Linked DNA regions of Homo sapiens: regions 1, 2, 3, 4, 6 and 7 are each linked to region 5. Evidence: promoter capture Hi-C in human tissues and cell types (Jung and others, 2019). All regions are on one chromosome and are shown on one strand. The core of a region is centred on a gene start or on the middle of the fragment in contact, and the rest is flanking DNA. Distances in the headings are between cores, read along the strand shown.

Evidence for each region. Contacts are between HindIII fragments. The study calls those that stand out against the background at their distance.
Region 1: a fragment that was not itself captured here is called in contact with the fragment with the promoter of KCNH1 in region 5 in 1 of the 25 tissues and cell types used here (mesendoderm cells).
Region 2: a contact is called between a fragment that was not itself captured here and the fragment with the promoter of KCNH1 in region 5, in 1 of the 25 tissues and cell types used here (H1 embryonic stem cells).
Region 3: a contact is called between a fragment that was not itself captured here and the fragment with the promoter of KCNH1 in region 5, in 1 of the 25 tissues and cell types used here (dorsolateral prefrontal cortex).
Region 4: a contact is called between a fragment that was not itself captured here and the fragment with the promoter of KCNH1 in region 5, in 2 of the 25 tissues and cell types used here (dorsolateral prefrontal cortex and hippocampus).
Region 6: a contact is called between a fragment that was not itself captured here and the fragment with the promoter of KCNH1 in region 5, in 2 of the 25 tissues and cell types used here (bladder and heart right ventricle).
Region 7: a contact is called between a fragment that was not itself captured here and the fragment with the promoter of KCNH1 in region 5, in 1 of the 25 tissues and cell types used here (dorsolateral prefrontal cortex).

What each region holds. Positions count from the first base shown.
Region 1 is chr1:210,848,318-210,852,143 of GRCh38, reverse strand. All of the region lies in intron 7 of KCNH1 (potassium voltage-gated channel subfamily H member 1), which reads left to right. Among named protein-coding and RNA genes, the nearest start is that of KCNH1-IT1, 280 kb to the left of the region's middle. The HindIII fragment of the contact is 5,917 bases long and covers 1-3,826 here.
Region 2 is chr1:210,702,678-210,706,527 of GRCh38, reverse strand. All of the region lies in intron 10 of KCNH1 (potassium voltage-gated channel subfamily H member 1), which reads left to right. Among named protein-coding and RNA genes, the nearest start is that of HHAT, 380 kb to the right of the region's middle. The HindIII fragment of the contact is 4,546 bases long and covers 1-3,850 here.
Region 3 is chr1:210,672,876-210,676,771 of GRCh38, reverse strand. HHAT (hedgehog acyltransferase) reads right to left here. Exons shown (of 12, transcript NM_018194.6): 12 at 482-2,484. The coding sequence ends at 2,393. Among named protein-coding and RNA genes, the nearest start is that of HHAT, 350 kb to the right of the region's middle. The HindIII fragment of the contact is 4,839 bases long and covers 1-3,896 here.
Region 4 is chr1:210,806,153-210,809,643 of GRCh38, reverse strand. The region is part of intron 7 of KCNH1 (potassium voltage-gated channel subfamily H member 1); the gene reads left to right. Among named protein-coding and RNA genes, the nearest start is that of KCNH1-IT1, 330 kb to the left of the region's middle. The HindIII fragment of the contact is 3,548 bases long and covers 1-3,120 here.
Region 5 is chr1:211,132,674-211,136,430 of GRCh38, reverse strand. It overlaps KCNH1 (potassium voltage-gated channel subfamily H member 1), which reads left to right and starts at 2,283. Exons shown (of 11, transcript NM_172362.3): 1 at 2,283-2,564. The coding sequence starts at 2,486. KCNH1-IT1 (KCNH1 intronic transcript 1) reads left to right here and starts at 3,057. Exons shown (of 2, transcript NR_046784.1): 1 at 3,057-3,243; 2 at 3,405-3,757. RefSeq lists silencers at 2,102-2,381, 2,876-3,066. The HindIII fragment of the contact is 15,184 bases long and covers 1-3,757 here.
Region 6 is chr1:210,725,415-210,729,237 of GRCh38, reverse strand. All of the region lies in intron 10 of KCNH1 (potassium voltage-gated channel subfamily H member 1), which reads left to right. All of the region lies in intron 2 of LOC105372901 (a long non-coding RNA gene), which reads right to left. Among named protein-coding and RNA genes, the nearest start is that of HHAT, 400 kb to the right of the region's middle. RefSeq lists a silencer at 2,344-2,544. The HindIII fragment of the contact is 3,349 bases long and covers 645-3,823 here.
Region 7 is chr1:210,749,364-210,753,250 of GRCh38, reverse strand. All of the region lies in intron 10 of KCNH1 (potassium voltage-gated channel subfamily H member 1), which reads left to right. All of the region lies in intron 3 of LOC105372901 (a long non-coding RNA gene), which reads right to left. Among named protein-coding and RNA genes, the nearest start is that of KCNH1-IT1, 380 kb to the left of the region's middle. The HindIII fragment of the contact is 7,340 bases long and covers 1-3,887 here.

The DNA of each region.
Region 1 (3,826 bases), core at 786-3,285, 280 kb after region 5:
GCTTTCTGTACCTCCAGAGGGAAAAAGCCTCATTCTCCATCATGCTTTCTTTCTAAGCACATTGTTTTTTTATTCTTCCAAACACTTCTAATTTGTAAATATATATTTGTTTCCTTATTTACTCTCTTTCTCTTCTGTTAGTCTTTAAACTGTGTGGGGGCAAAGGCCAAGTCTGATTTGCTCACCAGAATATCCTTAGCATTTAGCATGATTCCTGGCATGTAGTAGGCAGGGACTCAGTAAATACAGTCATGTGCCACATAACATTTCACTCAACAACAAACCGCGTAAAGGATGGTGGTTCCCATATGTTATAATACCATATTTTTACTGTGTCTTTTCTATGTTTAGGTATTTGTAGATACCCAGATACTTACCATCGTGTTATTATAGCTTACAGCATTTAGTACAGTAACAAGGCGTACAGGTTTGTAGCCTAGGAGCAACAGGCTATACCACATAGCCTGAGATTATAGTAGGTATCCCATCTAGGTTCATATGAGTATACTCTATGATGCTCACACAAGGATGGGATCACCTAAAAATGTATTTCCCAAACTGTGTCTTATTGTTAAGTGACACAAGATGGTATTTATTGATTTTTGAATAGGTATATCTCCAATTGATGAAACTAAAGGTCAGAGAGGTAATGTGACTCTCAAAGTTACCCACCTAGTGAATGGCAGAGGTATGACACTAATCTAGTTCCTGACTCTCAAATCCAGTGTTGCTTCACTTTACGGTGTCGTGTGACATTTATTTTAAGAACATAGCTTTCCTACCACACTGTTGGGATGATAGAAGTAGGTTATTTTGGCTGTAATAGTTATGTCTTAGCTCAAGAAATGAGAAAGTGAAAGAACAAGGTACCCAAACACACTAGACCAAGAACACTTTGAGGGAGACAACAACATGTTCTCTATTAGTTGGGAGCTTCTTGGGCTCAGGAGTCATCACTTTCCAAAGGCTGGCAGTGCTGTGACCAGAGAGAATCATTTAGCATTATTTAGTCAACTCAGAGAGAAAGCTGGATTAACTCCTTTTTCTGTGTCCCAGAGCAGACAGCACATGGCTTTGTCTTCTGAGGATACGTGGGCCATGAAGACAAATATTGAACAGCTCTTTAGGTGAGTGAGAAGGTTGATTTGGCAGCATGAGAATGCAGAGAGCTGCCTGCTCTCTTGCTGTGCCTGAAATGACCTTTTTGTGCATGAAATGAGAGATACTGAGCATGGCTGTTGGAGGCCAGTAGGCTCTAAAGAGGTAGAAGAGACATCTGGAACAAGCTCTAGAAAGTAGGCTTTTGATCTCCCCCAGGATGCTGATAAACAAAGCCTATTTTCCCTTTCCTCTGATGAAAAGCTTTATTGTGGCTTTCACTCACTGTGAATCATGATGTTAGAGTGGCATTGTTCTGCCTCTTGGCTTGCTGTTGAGACTGCTGTGTCAGGCCTGAGCTGGTGCCCCAAAGTCCCTCCAGAGTTCTTGCTTTGCCAAGGCCAAGCTAGCAGAACTGTGGGAGGAGTGATAGGCCTGCACATCTCCAAAGCCCCCTTTGGATTCAGCAGTTAATTTCTGGGTTCTGCATTTAACACAGATCCAAATGCTTTTTTAAAAAACATTTTTTCTTTTTGAGACAGAGTCTCACTCTGTCATCCAGGCTGGAGTGCGGTGACAGGATCTCGACTCACTGCAACCTCCGCCTCCCGGATTCAAGCGATTCTCATGCCTCAGCCTCCCGAGTAGCTGGAGCTACAGGTGCGCGCCACCACGCCCAGCTACTTTTTTTTGGTATTTTTTTTTTCTTCAGTAGAGACTGGGTTTCACCATGTTGGCTAGGCTGGTCTTAAATCCTGACCTCAAGTGATCCATCTGCCTCAGCCTCCCAAAAGGATGGGATTACAGGCCTGAGCCACCGCACCTGGCCCCAGATGTTTTTAGATAAAAGTTAATTATTTGCTTCATCTCTTCCTGCTAATCAGTGTCTTTCACAGCTCATGTATGAGCCTTGCACTTAGAGCTGCAAGTGTGCAAGTGACCTGCACACTTAGAGCTAGGGGAATGGTTACATTCTATCTAGTTTTGCTCATGATAATTTTGGTCACGAAGGAGATGCTAAAATTTTCTTTTTTTTCCCCACATTTTATTCTTTTTTATTCTGTAGATTTAACATGTCAATTATATCTTTATTTTTATTTATTTATTTTTTAAAATTTTATTATTATTTATTGTTCCTTCTAAGACACACAGTGCTGTGGTTTACCATGTGCTCCATGGACTTACACTTAAATCACAGACAGTAACAGCAGGAAGGGATTTATTGGTCATCTTTTCAAGGAGTTTCCACCCTGGGCTGTGGGCAAGTTTGGGAAAGGGGTGGGGTAGATGGAGCTCCTTCTTCTCCCATCTAAGTAGCTATTCTTTGTTTTACATATTGAACTTCTATTTGAATTGTTGCTTGATTAAAAGGCTCATGGCAGCTGGGCACAGTGGCTCATGCCTGTAATCCCAGCACTTTGGGAGGCTGAGGTGGGCGGATCACCTGAGGTCGGGAATTTGAGACCAGCCTAACCAACATGGAGAAACCCCGTCTCTGGTAAAAATACAAAACTAGCTGGGTGTGGTGGTGCATGCTTGTAATCCCAGCTACCCAGGAGGCTGAGGCATGAGAATCGCTTGAACCCGGGAGGTGGAGGTTGCAGTGAGCTGAGATCATGCCATTGAACTCCAGTCTGGGCAAAAAAGAGCAAAACTCCGTCTCAAAAAAAAAAAAAAAAAGAAAGAAAGAAAAGCACACACACGCAAAAAAAGGCTCATGGCTTAAAACCATGGTTTGACAAACTCTATTCTAATTCAAATCCTCCAAGGAGGCAATGGTAATCCAAATGAATCCTTACAGAAATTCTTAGAGGGAATTCTGTTGTTTTTAATTTTGTCTGAATTGTATCCATATAGTAGAATGTTTATAGGATTCTGTACAAGTATATGTATATTTTAATATGCACACATAATACACATACACATGTATGTATATGTGTAAGGCCAGGTTCCAATGCTCACATCTTTAAAGAAGGAGTTGATATCCTTCTATCTAGAAGTAATCTTGCATTGCCTTTTAGTGTACTACTTAATCTTTTTTTCTCTTAAAGTTATTTTACTTTGCCTTGAATTGTAATTAGTTGTGTACATTTCTTTCTCTGCTATACTCTAAGCTTTTTAAGGTCTAAGACACTTAACTCTTTACCTTTGTAACCTCTATAACACCTAATAATGTGCTCTGCCACACATGCAATTAAGGAATCTGTAGTTTATTTGAGAAGAATCATAAAGTAGAAAAAAAATTGAAATGGGGGCCCAGTTGGTAAGATGTTATTATGAAGTCAAATATATAGTATATTATTATGAAGCCAAAATTTCATGCTTGGGCCTCATAAGAACCTAATTTATTTTTCATACAGAAAAATGTCACGTGACCAAGATTCTATCTTGACCAACTATCTCGCAGATTTATGCTGTTATTCAAAAGATGGGACAGAGAAGATGGTACTTATGGCTCAGTGCAAATTAACTTCCATCACTGAAAAAAACAACTTTAGTTATAGGGCTTATCATAGAAGGCCAGTAATGTCAGTGATATAAAGGACTGCATGTGGGTGAGACGCTAGAGTCCACTCTTGCACTAATGATCTAGAACGTAGATTGTTAACATGGACTATTGAGTCTTGACAGAACTCAACTCACATGCAAATTAAATTGAATAGAATTTATAAAGACAAGGGTCAAGGAAAGTAGCCATGTGACCAACCAGTCAGTAAGAGAAATGTGA
Region 2 (3,850 bases), core at 781-3,280, 430 kb after region 5:
ATCATTAGGTATCCATCAAACAGGTTCTGAGTCACCAGCCATGGCTCACATAATCCCAAATAGTGGCTAAAGCAAAGGTCAGTTTTATTTGACTTTCAAATGCTTTGCTTATTTTGTGTTAGATTTTACTTTCCACGCTGCATTTTGCTCCTGCAAATATTAAAGGTTATTTGCATCCCCTGCACATATCAATGACTGGGGACTCAGAAGGGGCACAGCAAGCCCTCTGTAGAATGCTCCCCACCCAGGCACGGTCCACCCCTGCAAGAGCTGGTGTCTAAATTTCATGGAGCTGATGGCGGCAAAGCCTGAGTGAATCTGGAAGGGGAACTTCCTCTTCCTGTTTACTACAGAAGGCTTTGTGGAAGAGGGGAAATTTCAGAATGAATTAAACTAGTGACGAGGTTTAGAACTAATTGGCAAAAGGACAGGATCTGGAACCTAACTCTCTGGGTTCGAGTCTTGTTGCTTCCACTTAACCACTCCAAGTCTCAATCCCTTCATCTGTCAAATGGGGCCAGTGATAACACCTACGTTAGGCTCATTGCAAGGGTAAAGTAAAATACAATATGCAAATATCACCTGGCTCTTAGCATTCAGTGCTGCTGCTGATTATGATTATAGTCAGAGGAACACTGTTTAGGGCTGGCCTGGTGTAGAAGCAGAGTGGGATTAGGATCGAGGTGCCCAGATACTGGGGAGACACACAGCATAACTAGGCAGTGGGGGAGGTAAGGAAGGAGAGATGGCTGATCACAAGAGGAGACCCTGACTTAGAGCTACAGAGCATGGGGGAAATGCTGATCCCATAGGAGGAGGGAAGACCAAGGAGAGATCAGGAGACCTCAGAGTTGAAAGCCCTGAGATCCATCATCTGGGCACTTTCCTTTTATCATATCTTCAAAGCAATGGTGTCAGATTTAGAGTGGTTTTAGCCTCTTTTCTTTTTTGGCTATGGAAACTAAAGCCAAATGGGTTCTACCTCTGGGCCAGGGTCGACCCTCTGGCTTCAATGGGACCAGAATTCTGCTCCCCAGCTCCTGGGACAGCCAGCCCCAAGACTCTATCACTGTTGCTTGGATGGATGCTGTTTGGTTAGCCTAAAATTACACCTCTCTGGAAGTTAGTTTTCTCTGTCTGACCTCCATGTGTTACACTAGGTGAATGTTAAACCCCCAGGGAGGAGAGACTTGTGAGGCCTGCAGTTCTTCTCTGCCAGCTTTGTCAGCAACTCAGGGGCTTGAGCAAGTGGACGAATGAGAATCTGCAGGCCTGCAAACTGGCCTCCTCTGGAGAAGCTGGCAGGTCTTGCCTATTTCAGATACTTCTCAGCGGGTGCCCTCGGCTCTTTTCCCCACCCTCAGCCTGGCAGGGAGTGGTAGAGGGGAGGGAGGATGAAATGTGTCTTTCTTTCTTCAAAGTTGGTAATGCAAGTGAGATCAATTCTTGTCTCCTGCGCAGGGGCCGCCCCACCTCCCTACCTTCCTCTCCCCATTTCCTGCCCTGGAAAATTCAGACCAAGGACCCCCTACCTCCACCCAACCCTCCCAACCTTCAACCCCACAAACCCCAGAGAAGGGAAGGAGAGCTTGGGCTTGCAGTCCAGCAATGAGGTTTCTAGATGAATCATTTGCCGTCCCTGGCTCTGCAAAGTGTGTGTAGGGAGGAATGGTATTGACCAGTTGCTCTCCATGTGTGTGAAAGAGTGAGCCAGTGGAACTGGGTTTAAATAAAAGACCAAATTATGTGTAGGTTTATAAATTTACTGTTAGATGATTAGATACAGGTTTGGCTACTGAGGTATATATGGACTTTTAACTCTAAACCTTCAAAAGGAGAATAGCATTTGGGTTTGGAAGAGCCATGGATCTTGTCTCTCTCAGCCTCTGTCATCTCATTTATACAAAATAAGGACACTTGCCCCATATATGTGATCCCAAATGAGATAATGTGTGTGCTGGCTTTCTGTCAACCACAAAGTAGGAACAAATGTCAATTTTCGTATTGCTAATAATGGCAGAAGTAATGGCTGTCTTCATGGGATAGTTTAGAAAGTCACTGGCCTGAAGACAGAGCACTAGACCAGGTCCCTTCCGGTTTTAGCATCACCCTTGGACTCCTCTGCCTTTGTTATCAGAGGAAACAAAGGAGTTGACATAGGAGTGAATTGAAGGAAAGGCTGTGATAGGCCTACTAATCTTCTAGGCGTGGCGATTGTTATTAGAAATGAGGTTGATAACCTAAACGCTGAAATGGCCAGGAAGTCAAGGACCCTCCTGCTATTGAGACAGCAGAGCATTGTACTGCTCCTCAGCCCCCTCCCTTCCTTCAGACTTCACAGTAGGGGCAGGAAGAGCTGCTGCCTTCGACACATGTTCTCAGGTGGCACCAGAAGCTTTCCCCACCCTTGACCCAGGGAGATTGAATTGTGATGTCTGCTCTGGCCCAGGGCACCTCTCCTTGCCCTGGCATTGTTTTCTTACACTAACAGCTGGGCACTGGTGACAGTCCTGGAGAGGTGTGTCTTGTCTCTCGTAGAGCACTTGGCCTATGGGGGTGCACGCTGCACTTTATCATGGAGCACCATCTTTGAATACTGACATTCCCCTTGCTGGTGCCTGAATTCTAGCTGTTCCTTCTATGCCCTCCTGCTCTGGGGCTGGGCCAATTCACAGTATAATTAATTAGAAACTAAGCACAAGCCCGAGATTACAGATTTTACATACAAATGGATACTGTCCCTCAAAGATCAGGTGTTTCATGACCACACACTTCTTTGTGTCCTGCTCTATGCAGGGCCCTGGAAGGGACACAGAAATATAGTCTCTGTCCTCAGAGATCTTATGGGAGAGTTAGTTAGGAAGGCAGCATTTAATCTTGTCTTTTGTAGCATTATCATTGAAGAAAAACATAATGACACAAGCAAATATATGTTAATAAGTAGCATTTATTAAATGTGTACTAGTTGTGTGTTTGTTAGGCACTTTAAATGCATTATTTCTTTTAGTCCTTGCAATTACTGTATAAAGCAGGTAGGCACTGTTACTAGCTCTATTTTATAGATGAGAAATCTGATATCCAAAAGGGTTAAACTTGCCAGTGATGTATGAGAAGGCTTGTTTCCCCACATCCTATTATCAAAGTGTGGGGTGAGACTTCTGGATTTTGAGCAATCTGATACATTTCAAGAGTGGTATTTTTTCATATGCTTACCAGTCATTTAAATTTCCTTTTCTGTGATCTCTCTTATCTATTCTAAAAATAGGAATATTGGTGTCTTTTATTATTTTTAGGAGCAGTTTTTGTCATAAATTACAAGTATTTTCCCATTTTGCCATTTGTCTTTTAACTTGCACATGTTGTGCCATGCAGAAGGGATTTTTATGGACCCAAATTTATTTTTATTTTATGACTTCTGGATCCTTAGTTAGTTAGAAAGGGCTTCTGGTATATATTTTAAAAATTAATTAAAATAATAAAATTGTGTTAAATGTGGGAGATTAGCCACAAACATCTATTTCTTCACTTTCCAGAAAACCCAATGAAATGATATAAAAACAATTTTTTAAAATATAGAAACCTAGAAGGACTAATTTGTTAAAACTTGGGAGAAGAGAAAGTAGCAGATAAGTAATTTTGAAAGACGGAAGGCAGACGGAGGAAAGGTAACTGATGTAGTAAAGTGGAAGAAGCTGCAGCACAGATGCAGAAGGGGCTAAAATGGAAAAGGAGCCTTTTTTCTTTTCTCTTGCAAAGCCCAAGAAAGCTCTGTCCTTAGAAGCACAAATCACCATGGGGTGAGAAGGAGGTAAACTGCAGCCTAAAATTCAGGGGGTTGGCTTAAAGTCCT
Region 3 (3,896 bases), core at 1,149-3,648, 460 kb after region 5:
TCTTTAATGAAACAAAATGTTTTCTGCTGACACTTCAAATTAATTTGAAAAAATAATACCTTTCAGTCTTCTTGTGTGGTCCCAAGAATTAGAATGACTGAGGTTTGGGTGTCCTTCAGGTATCTTGCTTCCCTCCTTGGGTAGCATCTTGGCGATTGTGCTTGGAGCTCTTGGGCTTGCCTGCAGAGCGAGGCTGGGATCAGAGGATCCAGGCGCTGGAATTGACCTTGGGACCTTGTCTATTCTTTTCCCAACACTGCGCCTGAAGTTGCCCAGGGCTGATGACATGTCCAGTGTCATTGCCTGAACTCCTCTGTGCGCCCAGGCACCACCATTCAGAGTAACTACAAGATTTTAGTGAATATGCATGAGGAGAGAAGCATTATCATTTTCATATTACAAGTGGGGAGTAGGAAGAGGTTAAGCAAAACAATGGTCCTGGATAATCCACATATTAATTAATCAGCCTCAAATACAGAGCTAAACACAGTAATCATTTATTAATTCCTGAGAACCATTATGAATCATATAATAGTTTAAAAGAGATTCAGGATTACCACTTTCAAATATATCCACTGACGCTTCCAAAGTAGTTTAATGAATGAATAAACCTATTTGTTTGTATATAAATGGTATACTTGGAAGAGCTCAAAACTTTTGTATTACTTATATGTGCACATACATTAGACACTTCCCTATCATCATTTTTACTCCCTTTTTTCTTAGCAAGCCCTTTCTTTCCAAGTAAACTTCAGTCAGACTCCCTCTGGCTGCCCACAAATCCTCAATCACTGTTGGTCCATGAAGGTTTACTGCGTTCATTTAGGTGCTCACTCCTCCCTGAGGCTCATCCCCTCCTAAAACTTCTGAGCACCCCGGAATTACTGGCCCCATGTCTCTCTCTCTCCTTTACCAAGACAGCTGCTGAGGCTGCTGCTATGCAGGTCTACCTGCCCCTCTCTGGCCTCTGTCTTGCTTTAACACATAATGTGCCTACCCCAGGTAGTCAGTATCTGGCCCCCTCCCATCTCTTTGCCAAGCAGAGAAGCTATGAAGAAAGACAATCAACAAAATGGTCCTGTACTCTAGGAGCTAAAGCCTCATTGAGATGATAACCTCAACTCAAGACATAAGGGCCATGCTATGTAATAAACAGGAGGCAGCACTAGGTCCAAGTGAACCTTTCACTCAATGACAACTTAATTTACGTACTTGAGATGTTGTAAATTCTCCTGTAATTAGATATATTATGGATTCAAATTTTAAGCCTCCTTTATACCCTTCCCCACTCCAAAAAAAAAAAAAATCCAAATTCAAACAAGTCTTCTGAATTATCTACCACTTGGGAACTTTGGTAGCCTATCCAGCATCTTTTCAGAGGAGTGAATAATCAAGTTATGTGAGTATATTTAGATTTTAAACATTTTCCTCAAACATATTCAAAATAATTCTACAAACATGTAGATTATCTACAGGACAGAAAAGGCTCTGTTTGAATCAAACCTTAATAATATAAACCACTAAACGTGAATCACTGAGTAGGAGGATGACTTTTGAGACTTGTATGGAGAGGGTGGACAAGACTCCAGGACACCATCCTCATGACTGGCCTTGATAACACCCATCTGTGGGTACACTATCCTGTGGTTTCTAAATTCTGCTTCTTTATTAAGAAACGATTAACTGTAAGGTAGAGGAACTACCATGTTATACTTCTCTGCAAATCTCAGAAACAAGCACCCAAATGTAGATCACCCTGCTGAAGCTCAGATCACAGGACTCCTTGGGTATAGATGCCTTAGAATGCTACAGGGCTGCTACCGTCTTCTTCGACTACGTAATTCAAAAGACAGCTGTGGCTTGGTCTCATTCCTACAGAGGGGCTGAAGCATGAAACTCAAACCCTAGTGCTGCTTCTGGAGATACTGCAGGATGTGATGAAGGAGGTCACTTAAACATCAATGTCACTCAAATATTTTAGAAATATTGCCCAGAAGACAGGCCTATCACTAATCAGGATTTCTGTGTCTCAATCAATAAATTTCCACTACATTCTATTCTTGCTTAAGGGGAAAGAATGCAAAGGGCTCATGAGACTAGGTTCTAGACCAAAATGTCACCCTGTGTAGCTGGGTAAGACACACGACTGCCCTGGACCCGTTTCCTCAATAGGAAAATGATGAGTTGGGGTAGAAGATCTCAAAGACTCCAGATTAGAAGATTGTCTGGCTGTGAATTTTCTATGAGATCCAGCATCCAGTCTTGGAGTGAGGGCATTCAACTGAAGATGAGCAGATCAAATCCCTTAGAGGCTGTCCTGGAGTGAGAGGTCAGGGTGAAGCACTATTTGCCTTGGAGGCCAGCAACAAGGACTGGCCTGGGCCCAACAGCATTAGTCCGTGGCGTAGGTCTGGGCCCAGGCAATGCCCACGTGGGAGTAGCAGTACAGGAATCCCAGGACAGAGAGGGTCACCCAAGGCCAGCCTGCAGAGGGAGGACAGAGATGGAAGAGCAGTTAGAAATGCTTGGGGCAGGACATCCCACATGGGCAAACTGTCCCCTTTTGGAGAAGGCAACCTGACAAACAACAAAGGCCTCCAGGAAAGTCTGCTGTAATGACAACTTCAGCAATTGAGTCCTACATTCCCATCAGAGTCAGCATAAAATGAGGAGTGCACTATTGCAAACACAAACCATGTTTATGACGAGTTAGTGGGTGCAGCGCACCAGCATGGCACATGTATACATATGTAACTAACCTGCACAATGTGCACATGTACCCTAAAACTTAAAGTATAATAAAAAAAAAAAAAAGAAATAGGGCAAGCTTTTAACGAATCCATGTTTAGAGCCAGGCACCTGTAATCCCGGCACTTTGGAAGGCTGAGGTGGGAGGATCACTTGAGTCCAAGAGTTGGAGACCAGCCTGGGAAACATAGTGAAACCTCATCTCTACCATAAATAAATAAATAAATAAATAAATAAATAAATAAATAAATAAATAAATAATAAATAAGCCAGGCATGGTGGCATGTTTCTGTAGTCCTAGCTACTTGAGAGGCCAAGGAGGAAGGATCACTTGAGATCAGGAGTTAGAGGTTACAGTGAGCTATGAGTGTGCCACTGCACTCCAGCTTGGGCCACAGAGTTAGACCCAGTATTGGTTTAAAAAAAAAAAAAAAAGAAGAATCCACGTTTAGAGGACTAAAGCAGTTAGTAATTGAAAAAGGAAAAAAGTCCATGAGTCTGAGTGTAGTCTCATGTGGCACTGTAAACATGTAGGTCATGTTCCAAAATCTGTACTTTTAGATGAGTTGTTTGAAATCAGGGTACGTTTCCCCCTAGAATAATATTGTGTGATTCATGGACAAGACACAAAAATCACCGTCATCATCACCGTTGTGTGTTTTTTTTTTTAAACTTGTAGTAAATGTGAAATAACACTAATAGGAGCTCTGAGCCCTGGGGCACTTAGGTTCCAGAAGCCCAAATATAGGGTCCTCTGTCCTTCTTGGTCAGCCTCCCCAGAGGTTTCAAGAATTCTAAGTGGTGAGGGGTGGGATAGAGACATGCAGACGTGGCTTGTCCTTGGCAATGAGACAGGAAGGCGCCAGCAGCCAAGAGGGAAAGGGTGCCGGGCAAGATCAGGAGGGTCATTTGATTGGGGCATCACAACATTTCACAGAGAGCTTTATAAATTTAAATTTTTGACATTTCTTTTGAATATGGCTAGCTAGGAAGTCATTACCTTTGTCAATCCAATTGTGTGTGTTAAAAGAAACGAACGACTGTGAAATGTAGGCATTTACAATGAACTACATTTTTTTCTTAAAGTCCATGAGTCCCATAGTAAATCTCAAAATGTAGATTAAGCATTATACTGAATTTAGTGCCAT
Region 4 (3,491 bases), core at 97-2,596, 330 kb after region 5:
CAGTGAGGGTTTTCATGTACTCTGCTTTAAAAACTCCATCCTTGGTTCATGCTAATGCTGCCATTTTTTGAACATGGGTCCCATGGGGAAGCATGAAACTCAGTTGTTCACATGCATGTTTCTCTTTTTATGAATATTCATGGTCCCTCCTATAGCTTATTTAATATATATATTTGGCCACCCCATTCACCATACATCTTTGTCTTATTCTTCTCCCTCTTGAAGTGTCTGCTTCTGGTTTCTGGCTGGAGGCTATGCTTCCCAGCCTGTCAGAACAGCCCCCTGCAAGCTGCAATCCTTTATGAGAAATAAAGCTCTCCTTTCCAAATTTATGAACCTTGTCATTTTCAGTTCACAGGAAAGATTCACACAAATGGCAATGGCACAGTTCAGAAGCTTCCAGGAAAAATTTAAGAAAATGAAATTGATAAAGATATGTGTTTTTGCTACACCCTCCCTCCCTCCCCCACCTCCCCAGCCAAATTCCATATAGCTATTTCTAATTAAGGGCTGGAGAATACTATCTTTTTTCTTTCTTTCTTTCTGGGTAGGAATCGCTGTGATATAGTATAAACTCTAAACCACTGAAATATGAAAGAAACCCCTTCTTCTCCAAATCAGCATTTTGCCTTGAGGTTGGGGGAGGTCTCCTTCCTTTCTGAAAATAGAAGGACCCAAAGAATCCACATTTGGAGGCATCCATAACACCTTCTGCACTGGGAGGTTCGTTCTTGCTTTTTTAGTTTCCTGACAGTGGTGTTACAATCTCCCTCCCTTCCTCTCTACATCACACTCATATATCTATTCAGGTGACAACTGGACTTACATGTCTTCTCTCCCAGTTAGGTTTTTAGTATTTAAGGTGTAATGCTTTATATATAAGATACCAATATAAATTAAACGTTACGTGCATGAAAAACATGTAATCCCCCTTCATATAAAATTAGGGGCTGGCCATGGTAGCTCACATCTGTAATTCCAGCACTTTGGGAGGCTGAGGTGGGAGGACTGCTTGAGGCCAGGAGTTCGAGACCAGCCTGGGCAACATTGTGAGAACATGTCGCTATTTTATTAAAAAAAGAAAAAGGAAAAAAAATTAAGGAAGGGGCATTGAGACAATAATTATCCACCTTTAATGTAATAATATTTCATAATAGTAATTGTAATTGAGCAAGGGCCTCCTGAGGACCCTTAACCTTCCAGAATGCCTCAGAAGCACCCTAGAACAAGAGCAGCCCTGAGCTGTAAATGATGGTTGTCCATCCCTGCTTGATGTCTGACCTGCTGCCTGGTTCTCTCAGATCATGGACAAAAGAGCTATTCTTACTATATTGATTTGGTGTAACTATTGTTTTAGGCTCAAGATTAAATTAATTTTCTGGGATCCATCCTAAAAAGAGGCACATCTACTCTTTTCCTGTGACTCCTGGTTCATTGTGAATCAGAAAACAGAGCTGAAGCAGGACTGCCCACATAGGCTTGTTGAGTTAGAGTCAGACTCACTGGAAAAAGACAACTAGCCCATCTCCTGGGAGGATGGTTAGTTCTGACCACACTTCATGTCACTATTGGCATGGAGGAGACAGGACCTTCAACTGCATTGTTATGAGGCTATCTATGAGCTTAGAAGAGCAGGTGTCTGCTTTTTGTCCGGCTCCTTTTGTTCAGATTGACACCACTCCCTGGTACTTTTCCAGAGAACTCTTTGATCCTTGTTTATAACTCTCTTTTGGTGGATTTGTGTCCTCAGTCCTTCCCTTATCTCTAGATCCATGCATTTCTCTCTTATTTTTTTGCCTCCCATAGTATGTCAGCTAACACTGAATAAGATTACTTGGAAGAAATGGTTGTGGTACATCCATACAATGGGATAGTATTCATCAACTAAAAGGAAGGAACTATTGAAACATGCAACAACTTGGAAGATTTTGATGAGTTAAAAAAGACAATCTCAAAAGGTCACATACTGTGTGATTCCATTTCTGTAACATTATTATTATTATTATTATTTATTTATTTATTTATCTTTTTGAGACAGTCTCGCTTTGTCACCCACCCAGGCTGGAGTGCAGTGGCACAATCTTGGCTCACGCAACATGCACCTCCCAGGTTCAAGTGATTCTTGTGCCTTAGCCTTCCAAGTTGCTGGGACTACAGGCATGTGCCACCATGCCTGGCTAAATTTTTTTGTTTGTTTTTTTAGTAGAGACAGGGCTTTGCCATGTTGACCAGGCTGGTCTTAAACTCCTGGCCTCAAGTGATCTGCCCGCCTTGGCCTCCCAAAGTGCTGGGATTACAGGCATGAGCCACTGTGCCTGGCTTTTATAACATTCTTAAAATGACATAATTATAATAAAGGAGAAAAAGGTTGTGATTGCTGAGGGAAGCGTGACCATAAAGGGGAAGCACAAGGAGATCTCTGTGGTGATAGAAGAATTCTGTATTTTGAATGTAGTGTTGGTTAAATGAATCTACACGTGATAAAATGACACAGAACTATACATATACTTTATAGCAATATCAGTCTGTTCTTGATATTGTGCTGTAAGATGTAATTAATGGGGGAAACTGGGTGAAGGGTACACAGAATTTTTCTGTACCATCTTGGCAACTTCTTGTGAATTTTTTTTTTTTTTTGAGATGGAGTCTTGCTCTGCTACCCAGGCTGGAGTGCAGTGGTGTGATCTTGGCTCACTGCAAACTCTGCCTCCTGGGTTCAAGCGATTCTCCTGCCTCAGCCTCCCAAATAGCTGGGACTACTCGTGTGCACCACCATGCCCGGCAAATTTATATATATATATATATATTTTTTTTTTTTTTTTTTTTTTTTTTTTTTGGTAGAGATGGGGTTTCACCATATTGGCCAGGCTGGTCTCGAACTCCTGACCTCAGGTGATCCGCCTGCCTCGGTCTCCCAAAGCTTCTTGTAAATTTCTAATTATTTCAAGTAAAGTGTTTGCTTTTCTTATTTAAAAAGAGACATGAACTATTATTAAACAATACATGCAGTAACATGGATGAATCCCAAAATACGCTGAATCAAATAAACCAAAGAAGAGTACAAAAGAAAAAAAATAAGTACAATGAGCTACATCAAAGCTAAAACCTTTTGTGCTGTAAATGATACCACCAAAAATGATACCACAACCCATGGGATATGAGAAAGTATTTTCAAATCATTTATCTGAGAAGGGACTTGTATCCAGATTATATAAAAGGGTTCTTAGAACTCAACAATAAAAAAAAAATTGAAAAATGGGCAAAGATTTGATTTCTCCAAAGAAGATATATAAATGACCAATAAGCACATGAAAAGAAGCTTAACATCATTAGCTGTATGGAAATGCAAATCAAAACCACAATGAGATGGCAAGTCATACTCACTAGAAAGGTGATAATTGAAAAAGACACAATAACAATTGTTAATGAGGATATTGAGACACTGGAACTCTTATAGACTGCTGGCAGGAATGTAAAGTGGTGCAGTTACT
Region 5 (3,757 bases), core at 1,034-3,533:
TTTATGGCAAAACAGTTCATTGTAGCTGTTCACGTAGTAATTATCTTCCTCTTGCATCCCCAGGTAATGACTGTGATCTTGACCTAAAAGCCACCTTAGTTAGTTTGAATAAGGAAGACCTTGAAAGGAAAGGTAACTGACCAGAAACACTCTTAAGAAGCACACAATGAAGAAATGATCATTTCTAAGCAAGTACTTAAAGTGCCATAACACAGTATAACAGTGCTTTTATAAGCATCCAGTCTTATTTAAGCAAAAAGACGTAAAATAATGTGATCGTGTTATGGCACACAATCTGGAGGTTTAAAACTTTAAAAAAAAGAACCACTTTGTAGTAGCACTATTTTGTTTTAGGTCTTTTAATTTCTTCAAGTGTGCCACCAAAAATTGTAGTATTCAAAAAGGTGCCAATACACACACACATACACACACACACAGAGTCCATGTTGAGATCCATTTCAGTAGTACATTTAAAATGGAAGACATCTTATTTCTTTTTCTCATCAGGTTGCCCACCAAGGCTTTAACATCTCTGATCTCAAACTAATATCATCTGTTTCCTTTTTTATCTAAGCCACAGAACATGAGAGCTCATTAAAACCTTAGAAATTTTATTAACTCTCTATGATAGTTTTCCCCTCCACATTATTTTCTTTATCTTCCTTTCACAAGCAGGATTATGAGGTTTCTTGATGGGTTTTTAATATTGTCATGAAAAATCTTCCCTTGGCATGTTTGTGCGATAACACAACTTTAAAAACCTTATTTAAATGAACTTATTCAAATGAAGTGGATAGGCACCAAACTGGCTCAGCTCAGCACCAAATACATTTCAGAATCAAGTTCTCTTCAACCAGTGTTATCTCATTTGTAATAGAACAAAGAACCACTAGACGGAGCTAGGGTTTAAGAAATCACTGTTCTAGACTAGGTAACAGGCGATGGGTAGAAGGCTATCTTAAGGAAAAAGTGTATCATTACTTGCATTTCAAATCCTATGACAGTCTTATCCAACTCTCTGCTAACAGCAATCTGTTTACTTTGTCTCTACACAAGACGAGATAAAGGGTGATATTCGTAATGGCCCAATTTATTTAGTCACTCCAATAATGACGTCTGACCTTGGCACAGCACTTTACAATTTAAGGTGCTGTCCCCATACATAATTCTTGCTTGATCTTCACAGCAACTCTGAGAGATTTCTGGGCAAGAATTAGTTCTTCTGTTTTTGAAATTAATTAACTGAGACAGGATGTCTTTGCAATACATTAGGATATGTCAGGATGGCTAACCCAGACAATTAATTTTCAGGGTTAGTTTTTTTTTCTCTTACATTTTTGTGTTGACTGTTGACTCAGTCTGAAACTAGTAAACTCTCCATTCATTTCTCCTGTGGGACATAGGCTTAGTCTCCCACCGCACCGACTGGGGATACATAGTAAAAAGGCAGGTACAGACTATGTGTGGGTCGAAATCCCCCAAAATAAGTGAACAAACGACCGTTGTCTTAGCCCCTGTCCAGAAACCTTGGGTGTATGTGGTTCTTCCGTATACCAGGGGTCAGCTGTAAAAACTAACTGTATCCTCTGCACTACAGACTACCCTTCAAGCCAAAGCCACGGTTGCTTAATTAATGCTGCCCCTCTCCTGAGCATTCGCCCTTAGAGACAAGTCCACCCCTTTGATGTTTGTCAGGCAGTTTGATACTGATCATACCAAACATCAGGAGCCTGCATTTGTGTCTACGGTAAAAACAACCCAAGACAACTCTTCTGAAGCTGAATCTGCCAGTCACTCTAAATCTGCACTATTGCAATACGACTTCATTAATTACTGCTCAAACACTGGCCTAGAATCAAGGTGGGGCAACTTTCACTAGTCAGGCTAACCTTACAGGAAGGCAAGAAGGTGTTCCCAGAGCCTCACAGGTCCCGGGGGCCCCGGCCTGAAACAGAGCAAAGGAAGAGAGTTACATCAGCACGCTCCCCTAAGACTTGTTGGGGGTGAATCCGCCCTGAAAGCTGCTCACAATGCCCTCCTCTCCACCCAGCCCATGGCACATCCTGAACACATTTCCCGGCTGAACCCAGAGGGTGGCGCTGCCGTCCCAGCCTTGGTCCACGGCCGCCCGCCACTTCCCTGCCTCTGCGGGAGCCCCCCAGCTTGGTCTCCCGCAGGCCGGCGGTGGGGCACGAGCCCGGTAGGGGGCGCCGCCGGCCCAGGCGCCGCTGCTCCCTCCGCCCACCCGGAGGCGGCTGCCGCTAGCCGAGGCCGGCGCGAGTGCACTGCGAGGCGGGCCGCAGGGAGGGAGGCGCGAAGAGGGCGCGAGGGTAGCAGCCAGAGGGAGCCGCCAGCCCTGCCTGCGGATCCCCGCCGGGCGCATGGGGCGCTTCGAGCCGGGACTGCGTGCGGGCCCCGAGGCCAGTTTCCTGCTGTCGTAAGAAGCCGCGCCAGGACGCCCGCCGGACCCCGAGCTGCTGGGAGGATGACCATGGCTGGGGGCAGGAGGGGACTAGTGGCCCCTCAAAACACGTTTCTGGAGAATATTGTTCGGCGGTCCAATGGTAAGAGGTGCATTCGGATTTCGATTACCCGGGCGTTTTATCCGTGCCTTTATTGCAGAACCTCTCGCCGCTCGGAGCCAGCAGATGCAGCAGAACCCGCGAGCTCTGCTAAGGAGCCGCGGCGCGGGCACCCAGGGCAGCCTCCCCGAGGCAGAGAAAGGTGGGCAGGGCGGGGCGGGGTCTGATGGGTCCCCATCCTAACAGGAGAGCTCTTCTGGGGACGCCTTTTGGGCCTTTCTAGCGCCCTCTCGGTCTTATCTCCAAGGATGCGTGACAGCTGCTGAGCAAAGTACTGGGAAAAGTGATGGAAAGCTGGCTGCAGCCGGAGCGGCAGCGCGCGCCCCATCGGCACTGCCCACCCTTCCGCGAAGGCTCTGGGGCTCCCGGGCTGCTCCCAGAGGCGCCGCCTCTCCCCAGGGAGAGCCAGCAGTAGAGACGGGCAACTCCAGGTCCCCGCTGCCTCAGAATGGGAGGATCCGGCTGCCTCCACCTTCCATCCCTGCAACTGAAAAGTCCGAGGTGTCGGGACGTGCTCTCGGCGGCCTGATTCCACCCCTTCACCCACCCACCACTTTCTAGGTGAAGTTAAGGCTCACCTTCGAAGTGAGGGGCAGATGGTTTTCCTGGCGTCAGGTGGGAAGTGGAGGGCACAGGTGCAGAGCGAACTAAATGGTCACAGGTACAAACCTGTTATATTTCCCCTCTTCCAAACCCACAACGGTTTTATGCCACCCTTAAGTGTTGCTCACCTATAAATTCCCAATCTCACCAAACCTATAAATAGATCCATTACCCAATAAACTGACAATCAGCACTCATCTGTTTCCTTGTGGCATTAAGATCGACGGTAGCATGAAGCCTTGAGAGGCGAGAGTCCTAGGAGCGGGGATGGAAAGGAAGAATTCCAAACGCCTTTCGGACTTAACAGAGGAGAGACCCCAACTAAGCACTTGCAGAGCGACTAGGAGTCCTGGCAGTTGGAAGGCGCAGCGCACGAGTTCATCAAATGGCTATATTGAAAGATAGCCAAGCATAAGATGCTCTTTGCAGACTCCTAGAGCCCCCACCCCACCCCTTCCAGAAACAGATGACATTCTTCTACCAGGGAGACATGAGGAGCTAACTTAGGAAATGGGTTTTAATAATGTGTAAATATCACGATTTCAGAGTCTAAGGAGCTTCTGTGTAAAATG
Region 6 (3,823 bases), core at 1,070-3,569, 410 kb after region 5:
TTTTATGTCTGATTTGGTCTCTTGGCTTATAAATGTACCCTGTGCTCTAAATTTTCTTTCCTTTTTCCCCTTGCATGCTGAGGAATTTAAAAATGCAGAATGGCTTGAAGGGAAATGATTACTTCTTCTAACCCTTTTCTGCCCAAATAGAAGCCCAGCTTCACAGTTTCATGTATAATCTAACCTCAGCCACATTATAGTCCACTGTGAGCTTGCTTTTTCATTTGGTAGCCTTTGGTTCTTACCTGACAGTATTTGCTTTGGCTTATGAGTATTTTGGCAGCAAAGACATCTGAATGTTCCAGGCAATTCGGGCCCTACTAATGAGGGCCCTTTAGCAGGTTGGGATGCAGATTTGGGGTCAGAGAAGAGCAGCATGCCCAGCACAGCTGGTTCCCAGCAAGACATTTGCTGGCCCTATCTATGCCAGGTGAAGTGGCAAAGCCATCAAAATATAGAGCTGTACTTTCTACCTAAGGGGCTGTCTATTCAAGCCTGCTTTTCCTTTGTAAATGCACCTAAAACTGGCTCCTCCTGTTGCTAATCAATATTTAGTGTGGCAGCTGCGTCCCTGGATGGCTGTGTGTGTAAGCACGTGTGTGTGTGCTGGGTGCACATGGGACCTCTGCACACATACCTCAAACCAGCAGTCCCCCATGTCTTTTCCCATTTTAAGTAAATGACATAGAATGACCAGAGAGAAATTTATTTAAGATTTCCATGTCATCAAGGCAAAACGTTAATTCTAAGTCATGTTTGGTAATTGTTATACTGAAATCTATTATTTCACCATTGGTCTTCATTTGTTCATTACTCCATCCTTTTTATCACCTGTCCTACTGTGTGGTCTCTCATTATCATCTATTTATTCATTTCACTATTCACCATTCATTAAGAATTCCTTATGTGCCAGGCACTGGAAATGAAAGTAACTCACAGTCTCTTTCATGTGGTCTCAGGCTCCAAGATTGTCACTAAAGAGGGCACAATGACATTCTGAAAACACACAACTCATCAGAACTCAGACAAGGGGGCCAAGAGTCTTCAGACTCCTAAGCCTACATTCATTATGGCTTAGAGCAGTTGTTTACCAACCTTCCTTCAGGAAGAGCCTATTTTAGAATGTAGGTTCTGATAACAACCCGAGAGATTAAGATTCAGTAGATATTTGATGTTCCCTAGGAGTCTGCATTTTAACAAGTATCAATTGATTCTGGTGCAGGTTGTCTGCTGACCATAGAGAACACAGGGTTAGAACCTCCTGGTCTCATTTGTCCTGATTCAGTGGTTCATTCACAGTTGCTTTGTAGTTTAGATCAGTCTCTTTTGTTTGGAGGATTACTGAGATCCCTTGAGATTAGCTGTGCAGACAATGCAGAGACAGGAGATGTGCTTCAGCGTTTTTTCTTTTAAAGCTTTACTCCTTCCTATTCCATGAGTGCCTTGTGGACTGTTTTGAATATTGGAAAGGGGATGAAAATGTGCCTGGTTCTTGCATGTTAGCTGAAACTGGATTCCAGAGAAAGCTTATTAAATTATTTCCAAAGGACCAAACTCCCTGATTCCTTTATTAAAAGGAGCTTGTTTTGTTTGAGAGAAGGGTAATCTTTTGTGTATCTAATGGCAGAACATCTAGATACATTTTTTTTAGATTGTGAATACCTCATCCTGCTCCTATGCCTATAGTTAAACACACCCTACCCACTATTTCCTCGTGGACAATGAAAAGTTAACCAGAGGACCAGGCTTTGGTGGCTCACACCTGTAATCTCAGCTCTTTAGGAGGCCAAGGTGGAGGATTTCTTGAGGCCAGGAGTTCAAGACCAGACTAGGCAACATAGGGAGACTGTATCGCTATCAAAATATGTATATATTTTAAGCAGAGGCCTTTCTCCTGTGGGCTTATTGAGTAAGATAAGCCTCTATGAGCACATTAGAACTGTCAAATACTTACCATGAAGGAGACTTAGTGGGAATATGCCTTTGCCTTGCTGATCAAATATGGGGCTTTAATACCAAAGTATATACTTCTACATACTTCTCTTTTTCTCCCATTGAAATACACATCTCTGTCTGTGGCCAGAATAGTTTCTCCTACAGTATGAGGAACTCGTGATAGAGTAAGAAAAGACATTTGTGCTCTTCCTAATCCCACACACCATCAAGACATAAGTAATCATTCATCATCATTAGCAATTGTTGACTTTTTAACCCATGCCCAAGTAGGGTCAGCCAGACTGAGAGTGGTGACAAAGGGATGGCCTCCACCTCCCTGAGCTCATTCTGGTTTCTCACTACATTCATAATAAAAGACATGGGAAGGGTTTCCATACCCACCCCTCTCTATTGAGGGTTGAGTAAGCAGGCACTTCTAAGCTGGAACCTGCACTTTTAAATGAATAGAGGAGAGTAGTCCACCCCACCCCCGCCGGGGAACTGTCCATGGTTCTGAACCACTTAGGCATGTTTTTGACTCACCCTGTTTGGGGTTCACTACAGTATGTGAGCAGGAGAACTCACACACTGCTCATTTAATAAAAAGGTTTTATTAAATCCCTCTGCTTAATTACCTGATCCTGCATCTGAGGTTGCTGACTTTAAAATAAGATAAATGTTGTGGGTGACTGGCTTAGGTAAGGGAGCACAGGCTCTGTCCACAGAAAATTTGTCTCTGGGCTGTGAACTAGCCCAAGGGGACCTGAGCATGACCCTGGTCCTGTCAGCATTGAGTCTAAGAAGTTGAGCTTGCCTCCCTGAGATGATTTGCTACATACCTGTCCAAGCTCCCTGACACTTCAGGACCCAGATGCCAACCTGGCAGGGTTCCTTCTGTCCTCTGCATGAATTATTATAGGCATCTGAGAGGGGTCTTTCTTGAGCTATTAGTTGTAATTGGATTCATGAATAATCAATTTGCTCCCAAGTCTCCCCATTTGTTTCTGCTTGCTTATGGTGTTATTGCACATCAGCGAGTCACCAAATAACTTCCTTTTCAGAAGTTGGGCAAGTGCTGCTCCTTGGCTTGTCAGGAGCTGATACCAGGATCCTGTTCATTTACCCCAATTTGTAGCCTCTTCCGGGGAGACTCTACCTCCTTTTGCATTGAAATGGATGAAAATGTTCTTATAAATTTTTGATGTGTTACTTTGTTCTTCCATTCCTTTGTCAAAAAGAAGGCATATAATACACTTTCTATCTGCCAAACTCTGGGAATGTGAATATGACTAAGATGCAGTCTTGTCCTCCAGAAGCTTGTGGCTCAGATAGGCACACAGATAACTATAATATAATGTCACAAGTCCTGTGATTGTCAGAGGTAGGGAAGTCTTTGCAGAGAAAGTGACATTTGTACTGGGTCTTGAAGGGTGAGGAGAAGCCCAACAGACAGAGGATAATGGACATTCCTGACAAAGAACACAGCCCTAACAAGAAGGGAAATATATGGATATGTAAGGGCTGGTTGGGAAACAGAGTAGTGGCTCAGCACGGGGGACTGGGAAGGAGAAGGGGCTAGAAAGCCATTTTCTGAAGAGCCTTGAGAGCCATTTGAAACCTTTGAATGAGACAGGTATAGTCTTAGCTGCCCTGCAGAAATGAGCTTCTACAGCATTAAAAGCCTGTTCATCGTTCATACCTCTGTGCAGATTTCCTCCATTCAAGCTTCTTCTTGTCCAAGAGGGCTTCCCTGATCACCCCCTACCCCCAGACTGAGTTGAGAGAGCCATAGGCAGGTCCATCATTTAGCCACCCATTGGGTTATAATTGCCTTCCATGTTTCAAGCTTTCACACAAGACTGGAAGCTTTCTTAGATCTGAGTCTGGA
Region 7 (3,887 bases), core at 1,384-3,883, 380 kb after region 5:
TACTGTGATATCTCCCTCCCATGTCCCCCACACACTTGGGGGATCCCCTAATTATTCGTTTCCTATGACTGGTGTAGCAGATTATCATAAATTTGGTGGCTTAAAACAACATAAATTTATTCTCTCACACTTTCAGGGGTCAGAGGTCAGAAATCAAGGTGTTGGTAGGGCCACATTTCCTTTGAAGGCTATAGGGGAGAACACTTCCTTGCCTCTTTCAGCTTCTGGTGGCTCCTGGTGATCCTTGGCTTGTGACCACATCATTCCAATCTCTGCCTCTGTGTTCATATGGCCTTCACCCCTGTGTCTCTAGGGTTCAAATCTCCCACACCTTTCTCTTATACGAACATAGTCACAGGACTCAGGGCCCACTCTAAATGCAAGATGATTTCATCTTGAGCTCCTTAAATTAATTACATTTTCAAAGATCTTATTTCCAAATGAGGTCACATTCATAGGTACCAGGGTTTAGGACCCTGGCACATATCTTTGGAGGGGCTTGGTGAGGAGGCATAATTTAACCAACTACACATCCCTTTCCTCTTCCTCTTTCTAATTTCCTCCGTTCTCCTCCTTCTCTTTTCCCTCCTCATCCTCTGTTCCCTATTTCTCATTTTCCACCTCCTCTTCCTTGAGTACCTTGAAGCCAGCACAGGAATCTTCTTTTTATGCAGAAAATATTCTTATGTAAACTGTGTTTCTTCTCCCCAGAAGTTCTTGGAAGAAGGTCCAAGTATTTGGTTAATTGACAGTTCCTTTGACTCTCAGAGTAAAATATCAGCTTCCTTTGCCTTCTCATGAAGCGCAGCTACATAGAAACCAGTGGAACTCTCTGCTTGACGGAGAGATTCACAAAGCACAGCGGACATCAGGATCTCAGGAAAGAGATTTGTGTTAGACATTAGAGCTTCCGGCTGCCAGGAGTTATGAGCTGGTGGTAAGTGATACCCAAGGAGTTATGGACTCTCCTTCATTATAGCTGGTTAAGAACAACCTTTTGTTGACTTTCAAGCTCTGATCTCTGTCCTTTTCTTGTTCTAAAATCTTCGATGATTCCTTACAGCCTTGGAGTAAAATCCAGACCCAGGGATCTTCTATAAACTTGTATTTCCAGTTGCAGTTCAGATTGTATCTTCATTCTTTTGCCTGATACCTTTGCCCCACTGGGCTACAATAGTTACAGAACATGCAGTGTACTCACTTCGGCATGTCCTTCACACTACCTTACCTCCTCCCATCAAAACCCAATCTGGCCTTCAAAATCCAGCTCAGATTCTGTTTTCTGCTTGCAGCCTTCCTCAGTCTACATCCAGCTGGAATCTCTCTCTTCTCTAATTTGTGTTTCCATGGTGTTCTGCTTGTCCTTTAGAGCAGGTATCGCCTATGGTTTCTTATATGGTTCAGCACATGTCTAATATTTCTCCTGGATTTGGGGGCTTTATTCATATTTTTATTTCTTGCATTTCTTCATACAGTGCCTCAATGTTGTAAACAATAATTTAAGCTACTGGAACCACAGCTAAATTTCCACTCAGCCTTTGCACTTCAAGTCAAAAGTTAGTGAGGATTCCACCCTCACATTTTCAGCCCCCCTCTTCTCCTACCTCTCAGCAGCAGGCACCCTCAGGTCCAGCCAGGCCGCTACCCCAGTGGCCCCTACCCACTACACCAGGGTGACTAGCTGTCTCACTTTGCCTGGAACTGTCCTAACGTTAGCACTTAAAGCCTTGCATCCTGGGAAACCCCTTAGTCCCAGGCAAACTGGGATCATTGGTTGCCCTACTCCACACTTAGCCTCTTCTGACTCTTGCTAAAATTCTTAAAATTGAATTTTATGTCCAGGCTCTATCTTCTTCTAGTCATTTGTCATACAGCCACTAAAACTGCTTTCTTCGTGTGAGGATGGGCATCTAGTCCTGGCTCTGTCCCTGCACAGCCCTCCCAGCTCTTCTGTCAAATGCAGCCTCATCAATGTGATTTCTGAGCTTGCGTCCAGCTCATCAGCCTCCTGACCTTCTCTCTCTTCTGCTCCACCTCAGCCCAAACTGTAACTCAGTCTATGTAGATGACCCTCTCAGTTTCCTACACCACATCAAAGAGGGCCTGGGAGTACTGGAACCCCAGACATAACTCTCCTCTCTATAGAACCACAACTCAAAGATGCCTCCTCCAGAAAGCTCTGCCTAGGAAACTCCTACCAGCTTAGCACCAGTCCATTATTCTTCCTCTGGAGGCTCTTAAGTGACTGAATTGATCAGTGTCTCTTAAGAGAAGTACCTGTTGCCCTGGACTAGGTGCCAGAACTTGGATTCTACTCCAAATTTGCCACCAGGGCAAGTTCTTAACCTCAATTGTGTTCATTGTAAAATGAGAACATTAGATGAGCTCTCATATTTTTAAGAGTCATCCCAAACTTGGATTCTAATAGTATCTGCCCATCCAGTTTGCTCTGGAGAGTGTAAGATACAAATGTCTTAAACAAGATGGCATTGGAAAGAGGCTTCCGAAATCCCATCTTACATTGGCTCATTCCCTGCCACCTGTCCCTGCTTGACTTGTAATTCCTATCTTTATCTTTTGATTCCCCTGTAATCCCATCCTGGCCCAGCCAAAAAAGCTACCACCTACAGCTTAAGAGATTTGACAGTATAATTAGAAGACCAAGATTCCTTCCTGTGACTTGGCTTATGAAACTGAAGATTTGGGATGAGCAGTTAGATTCTTAAACCTTGTCCTGGGCTCAGTTTCTACCAGACCCAAAATTATGTCTGATTTTTCCCTTTGTGCCCCAGATAAACTCATCAGGACCTACTTGTTGCTGCCTTTAAATGTTTTCGATGCAGCTGAGTCTATTGAAGTAACAGGCTGGGTGACCTTCCTGGCTTAGAACTCTAAAATGTGTGCAAGTCCTCGTGTGTGTACAGGACACAAATAGCACAGTTAGCGTCTGTACTCTGCTTTACTTTGGACAAGGCACTTTCACATATTTTATCTTATCGGATCCTTGCTACAACTTTATGAGGTTGGTATTATTGTTATTATCCCTATTTTTCCATTTGGGGAATCTGAGGCTCAAAGGAGCAAACTGTGGTATGTGGGAGTGTGTGATCAAATCAGAGCTTGAAGTCACATCCTCAATTCCAGATCCCATGCTCTTTCTGCTGCCCACATTTCAGCCCACGTGCCTGCAGTAAGATAGCAAGCAGCCAGCTGGACGCGGCGGCTCACGCCTGTAATCCCAGCACTTTGGGAGACGGAGGTGGGCAGATCACCTGAGATCAGGAGTTTGAGACCAGCCTGGCCAGCATGATGAAACCCCATCTCTACTAAAAATACAAAAATTAGCCAGGCATGGTGGTGTGTGCCTGTAGTCCCAGCTACTCGGGAGGCTGAGGCATGAGAATCACTTGAACCTGGGAGGAGGAGGCCGCAATGAGATGAGATCACGCCATTGTACTCTAGGCTGGATGACAGAGCGAGGCTCCATCTCAAAAAAAAAAAAAAAAAAGTGAGCAGCCTTGGCTCCTGTCATGCAGGGGTCCTCACAACATTCCACTGACAGAGGTGGCCAAGGGAAGTTGCCTATGTCCCAAGTTATTTCTATAAACTGGTGTCTCTTAACCTGTAATCTGCACACAAATCATCTGGGATCTTGTTAAAAATCAGGTTCCAAGTAGGTTCCAATTCAGTAGGTCAGGAGAGGGGTCAAAATTCTGCATTTCTAATAAGCGCCCAGGTGATGCTGTGTTGCTGATTGAACACCCTGACACTGAGGACTTGGGCATGATATAGAACTGTTCATTACCACTAGGGCCCTGTGGGTATTGCTCATGCTGTCTGTTCTTTGCTGTTAGGTTTCCCCCATACAAGGTTTTCTCTCTCTAGTG